Linked DNA regions of Homo sapiens: region 2 is linked to region 1. The links are contacts of gene promoters, found by promoter capture Hi-C in blood cells and fetal thymus (Javierre and others, 2016). All regions are on one chromosome and are shown on one strand. The core of a region is centred on a gene start or on the middle of the fragment in contact, and the rest is flanking DNA. Distances in the headings are between cores, read along the strand shown.

What was found. The method cuts DNA at HindIII sites, captures the fragments that hold promoters and counts their contacts. A CHiCAGO score of 5 or more calls a contact.
Region 2: a contact is called between a fragment that was not itself captured here and the fragment with the promoter of TAF13 in region 1, in 2 of 17 cell types (M2 macrophages and M0 macrophages). The highest score is 8.3, in M2 macrophages.

Annotation. Positions count from the first base shown.
Region 1 is chr1:109,074,312-109,077,537 of GRCh38, reverse strand. TAF13 (TATA-box binding protein associated factor 13) reads left to right here and starts at 1,535. Exons shown (of 4, transcript NM_005645.4): 1 at 1,535-1,617; 2 at 2,473-2,551. The coding sequence starts at 1,591. RefSeq lists enhancers at 1,278-1,527, 1,628-1,687, 2,292-3,226. The HindIII fragment of the contact is 13,771 bases long and covers 1-3,226 here.
Region 2 is chr1:109,196,339-109,199,564 of GRCh38, reverse strand. It overlaps ELAPOR1 (endosome-lysosome associated apoptosis and autophagy regulator 1), which reads right to left. Exons shown (of 22, transcript NM_020775.5): 16 at 1,911-2,091; 17 at 1,490-1,586; 18 at 891-992. Among named protein-coding and RNA genes, the nearest start is that of SARS1, 16 kb to the left of the region's middle. RefSeq lists an enhancer at 1,029-2,228. The HindIII fragment of the contact is 6,896 bases long and covers 1-3,226 here.

The DNA.
Region 1 (3,226 bases), core at 286-2,785:
AGACCAAACAAAATACAATTACTATTCAATTTTGGGGTAATAACATTCCTAGAAACTTCAACGTACATTAAAAGTGTGGGAAAATGCTTTGTGTTTATTTTTTTAATTTTTATTTTTTGAGGTGGAGTCCCGCTCTGTCACCAGGCTGGAGTGCAGTGGCACAATCCCGGCTCACTGCAACCTCTGCCTCCCGGGTTCAAGCGATTCTCCTGCCTCAGCCTCCCGAGTAGCTGGGATTACAGGCGTGCGCCACTACGCCCAGCTAATTTTTGTACTTTTAATAGAGACGGGGTTTCATCATGTTGGCCAGGATGGTCTTGATCTCCTGACTTTGTGATCCGCCCACCTCGGCCTCCCAAAGTGCTGGGATTACAGGCGTGAGCCACTGCGCCCGGCCGCTTTGTGTTTATTAACAAAGATAGGTTCAACTCTCAGATAATTAGTTTTCACTCACCGAATGTTCAGCAGGACATTCAGAAATCGTGTGTATTACGGGATTTTCTTTATGTAGCATCATCTGTTACACTGTAGGGACATTTATATTATATCCCTAGCTCTGGCCTTCCGATGCCTGTGGTTTTGCCAGCCATTGTTCTGACCAAAAGCCTTCCCCGGTGGACACGGTGGCTCACACTTGTAATCCCAGCACTTTGGGAGGCAGAGCGGGGCAGATCGCTTGAGGCCATGAGTTCCAGACCAGCCTGGGCAATGTGGGGAAACCCCATCTCTACTAAAAATACAAAAATTAGCTGGGCATTGGTGGTGTGCGCCTGTAATCCCAGCTACTTGGAGGCTGAGGTGGGAGGATGGCTTGAGCCCAGCAGGTCTAGGCTGCAGTGAACCCTGATTGCGCCACTTCACTCCATCCCGGGGGACAGTGAGGTTGTGTCTCAAAAAAACAAAAATAAGGCCGGGCATGGTGGCGCACGCCTGTAATCCCAGCTACTCGGGAGGCTGAGGAAGGAGAATCACTTGAGCCCGGGAGGCAGAGGTTGCAGTGGGCCGGGATCGCGCCACTGCACACTTCAGCCTGGGCGACAGAGTGAGACTTCGTCTCAAAAAAAAAAAAAAAAAAAATCAAAAAACCTTCACAAAATTTTAAATGCTTAGTCTCGGGACACCATCTCTTGGAAATTTGTGATGAAGCACAGTATCCCCAATAATTAACACAGTGCTTAGAAACAGTGGAACTACAAATCTTTAAAATGATTTAAAAGCATATTTGTCTGATAAAGGACTGCTGGCTTGCCCTCCTATGATCCATAGCTTCGCAGTCCCCAAACAAGAAGCTGTGATTCAATACGCAGTAGCAAATTCAGGGTGACAACGAGATACTCGCGACCTAGCCCGTGATTTCCTTTTCTTTGTTAGTTTTCAATTCCTTCGGGATTACAGGGAGGCGCTCCGGCCTCCTCCCTTAGAGACTGTCGCATTTCCGCCGCTAGGCCGGAAAGCACCACCGTCCTCCCGCAGGCCGCAGAGGGCTAGGCCCAGCTACGGCCCCGCGCGTCACCGGAAGTGAGGCGGCGGAAGTAGTGTAACCAGCTGGGAGCCAGCCGGCAGGACGCTGTGAGTTGGCGTGCTAGTGGGATGGCAGATGAGGAAGAAGACCCCACGGTGAGTGACCGTCTCTGTCCAAAACCTGTCTTTTCTTCACTCCTTCGGGCTCAGTAGCGGAGGCAGAGTTCAGGATCGGGTCTGCTTGCCTTAGTGAATTCAGCGGACAGAGTTCGGGGACTTCACGCCCTAAGGATTGATCATTTTAGAAAGTGGGGAAGGACATGAAGGAAGAGTAGGTTTTGTGACCCCTTTCCCCTTGATTTTGGTCTGTATTTGCCAGACACTGAAACACGTACAGAATCATCAGAGATCAAAACTAACATCTATTAGCGCGCACTATGAGCCAACAGTTCAATTGTTAACAAAACTGTACTTACTGTGAAGTAATGGGAAAAGAATGCATTGAAAGTCAGACAGCCTGGATTTCAAAATTTCCATTCTCTCTGAGCAAGTTATTTAACTTTGAACATCAGTTTTCTTTTTATAAAATAGGGTTACGGGCTTACTTAAGGAACGTTTTTAGCACTGTATAAGCAAATGCATAGGAAATATTAGTTTTGCTTACTACAAAGTCTACAAAGGTAGACTTTGATTCAGTATCAACTGTTTAACAGTAACAGTAGTAATAGGCCACCTTAGTTGTTTAAAAATAAAACTTATGGTCATTGGAACTCTTACAAGTAGAAGCAGTAGGATTATTAGTTAGGAACATTGTAGAAGCCATTTTTGCATGAGTTGGAAGTTGGACTAGATACATAGGCTCCTTCAATGCTAAGGTTTCGTGGTTTTTTTTTTTGCTGCTTCCTTTGGCTTTCTGGCCTATCTGTTGAAAAGGAAAAAAAAATGTCATTATTAAAATATCAAATGCAAGGCAATTATTTGACATTTCTATATATACATTTTAACTTCTAGTTTGAGGAAGAAAATGAAGAAATTGGAGGAGGTGCAGAAGGTGGACAGGGTAAAAGAAAGAGACTTTTTTCTAAAGAATGTAAGTAGTATTTGACAATGATTTTGTTATAGATGATGAAAACTTTTGGACATGTCCTTTCAAAGTAGCTTTATTGCTTTGAATGTTTCCCTGTAGGGATAATATTCTCAGACTAGCCTATCAAATTCTGTTTAACTTTTGAATCAGATAGTACCAATCCTAACCCCAATTGTGTGTGTGTGTATAAATTGCTTTTTTTTTTTTTTTGAGACGGAGTCTCGCTCTGTCGCCCAGGCTGGAGTGCAGTGGCGCAATCTCTGCTCACTGCAAGCTCCGCCTCCCGGGTTCATGCCATTCTCCTGCCTCAGCCTCCTGAGTAGCTGGGACTACTGGCGCCGGCCACCACGCCCACCTAATTTTTTTTGTGTGTTTTTATTTTGCTTTATTTTATTTTTTTAATTTTTTTAGTATTTATTGATCATTCTTGGGTGTTTCTCAGAGAGGGGTATTTGGCGGGGTCATAGGACAATAGTGGAGAGAAGGTCAGCAGATAAACATGTGAACAAGGGTCTCTGGTTTTCCTAGGCAGAGGACCCTGCGGCCTTCCTCAGTGTTTTGTGTCCCTGGGTACTTGAGATTAGGGAGTGGTGATGACTCTTAACGAGCATGCTGCCTTCAAGCATCTGTTTAACAAAGCACATCTTGCACCGCCCTTAATCCATTTAACCCTGAGGG
Region 2 (3,226 bases), core at 336-2,835, 120 kb before region 1:
TCAACCCCTTTGAGGTTCCTGTCCTCCCCACAGACTTGTGACATTTTGCAATAGCCACTTTGATGCAGCTTCCTCGGGGTGGGATTGGAGTTGAGGTGGGGTTCAGGAATGAACTTCCGGTATGGATACCTGTTATGTACTTTACTGTGATGTTTACAATGGCAAGAACAGGGATTTGACACTCAGACACCACTACTGGGTCAAGACGCCCTGCTTTGCTCCCCATCTCCCCAGTCAGTTTAGGCGCAGCATATCCAAAACGTCTTCCTCAAGACGCTAGTGCCCGTCAAGATGTTAGCTGCTGTTATGCGGGGAGGGGAGGGGGTGTCCTGTGGTCATATTCATTTAGAAATTTTTGATTTAGTTCACTCAGCTATTAACCTCAGAACTGGGTATTTTCGTTGCAGAGAGATTCCTAGGATCCCTAAACCTTTACTAATCCTCATAATAGCCAGAGATCATGAAACGTCCTAAAGTCTCCTTGTCTCATTTAATCCTCAAAACAACCCGCTGAGGGAATTTAGCATTATGCCCATTTTTACAGATATGGAAAAAAGAGGCCTAAAGAAGGTAAGAAATGCATCCATGATAACATAGCTGGTTAGTGGAGGAGATGATTCAACCTGGCTCTCAGCCGAGCTGTTGGTTACCATGCTACGCAGCTGCTGCCTTAATGGACCAGGAATATGAGAATAGCTTTCACTCTTCCTTCTACCCCATTCTTGCCATATGAAGACTGAGGGTCTGGGGCCATGACTGTGCCCCTAAGCACCCATTAATGGATCTCAAACTCTTTTCTTTTTTGCTCTTTTTCAGTAATCTCTGGATCTCAGGATGGAATGACTTCAAGGGAGATTTTGGCCTTTGTTACATCCCTTTGCAGGGCTTACCCTGGCAGCAGCAAACTTCCAGGGACAGTTTTCTGTGGACTGCACCTGACGCGGATGGTGGTTGATCTCCCAGAACTGCAGGACTGGGTCACATCATTGGACCTGCAGAGAAAGCCAGCCCCCATGAGGGAATGAGTCACTCAGCTGTGTTATTGGACAGCCACCAAGAGAAATCCGCATGGAGCAATTCCCTTGCTGGGGAAGTCAGGACTTGGGCTTTAGCCTGGCACACAGGGAGTGCACAGGCCTTGGTTTATACGTGGAAAGGGTGGGGATCAACAATATGTAGTCAAGGGGGAAATGCCCTGGTTTAGGAAAGTCATGGCTAGCATACACTGGAGCCTGCTTAGGCTGGAAGGGAAGTCCACTGCAGATCATCCAATATTTCTCCTTGCCTCTAGGGCAGATCTGCTCCAGTAATATCCAGGAAGCTGGGATCAGGAACTCCCAGCCCTTAGCTATCATGACTGGGCAGATCTGCTAGACCTCAGACATGTTCTGGCTTGATAAGCAGTAGGTGGCTAGAGAGGGAGGGATGCAGCAGAAATTATGGAGGAGTCCTAGGTTTCACTTGCATTAGCCTAGCCTCTCATCTTCACCTATAAAAGAAGATCACGTCCGGTATTCCCAAGGACTCCAGGTGGAAAAGTTCAGCTGGGGAGGTGATTCCATCCAGAGTCATATCTGTTGTCACCCCTGCCAAATTAGAGCTCCTAATTAGTTCTCACTAGTAGCATTAGCTGGCAACCACTTCAATTCTTCCAATACCTGTCAACATCCAACCTCACTTCATCTCATCACATCCCTGAGTGGCTTATGAAAGGGTGAAACAAGGGTTTGTCAGAGTCCCTGGGAGCACTTTGCACACAGAGTGGAATAGAAAACACAGGTCAAGAGGTTGGGCCCCTCATGTGGGGCCTTTTACCTCCCAGACTGGTAACCTCACACTCTCTTACACATACACACACACACACACACACACACACTCTCAAACAAGGCTGAGGCAGCGGAGTTACTCACCAATAAGTCGATCAGCAAGGCTGACAGGCTGTGAGGAAACCCCGGCCTTGTAGCCTGTCACCTCTGGGGGGATGATGACTGCCTGGCAGACGTAGGCTGTGATAGATTTGGAGAACCCTGACTCACCCTCAGGAATCCGGAGGTCAGTGACATTGTCGGTGCACACAGACATTTTCCTACCCTGGTTGGGGAGTGGGGAGGAAGAAGTAGGAAGAAGTGAGTGGTCACAGAGGAATTCCCAGAAGGGAATAGGGAAGGCTTTTTTACATCTAAATTTTCAGCGTTTCAATGGTATGTTGTAGGGGAATGATTCATCCCAGGTCTAATGACGAGACAGATTTGATTTTTTTGTTTTGTTTTGTCTTTTTGAGACAGAGTCTTGATCTATTGCCCGGGCTGGAGTGCAATGGTGCAATCATAGCTCACTAAAGCCTTGAACTCCTGGGCTCAAGTGATCCTCCTGCCTCAGCCTCCTAAGTAGCTGGAACCGCAGGTTAATTTTTTTTTTTTTTTTTCGTAAAGATAGGGCCTCTCTGTGTTGTTCAGGCTGGTCTTGAACTCCTGGGCTCAAGCAATCTTCCTGCCTCAGTCTCCCAGAGTGTTGGGATTACAGGGGTGAGCCACTGTGCCCAGTCAACATTTTCAATGTTATAAATTTTATTATAAATGGTGCTGGCTGGGTGCAGTGACTCACACCTGTAATCCCAGCACTTCGGAAGGCCGAGGCAGGTGGATCATGAGGTCAAGAGATTGAGACCATCCTGGCCAACGTGGTGAAACCCCGTCTTTACTAAAAACACAAAAATTAGCTGGACGTGCTGGCGCATGCCTGTAGTCCCAGCTACTCGGGAGGCTGAGGCAGGAGAATCGCTTCAACCTGGGAGGCGGAGGTTGCAGTGAGCAGAGATCGTGCCACTGCACTCTAGCCTGGCAAAAGAGTGAGACTCCACCTCAAAAAAAAAAAAAGTGCTAAATCTGGTGTCTCAGCCTTTTTTTTTTTTTCTAGATTGTAGGAAGTAGATGAGCTTGAAAACTGAAGAAAACCTTTACATTACAATAAAATAGAGTTCTTTTGTCTTTGAACTAAGGATCTATCGTGTGGCAGTACATCATAAGCATTTCTAAACAGGAAAGGAGTAGATAAAAAAATACACCATTTCCCCAAATTCCCCACCTTCATTGCTCTCCATAATTCACTGAATGACACTTTTGCTACATGAAGCCTGCTTTAATCAGTCTTATTTCCTAAGTGATCATGACCTGTTACTTCTGAGGCTTCATTTTAACTTCTTCGAAGACTTCTGAAAACAAGATAG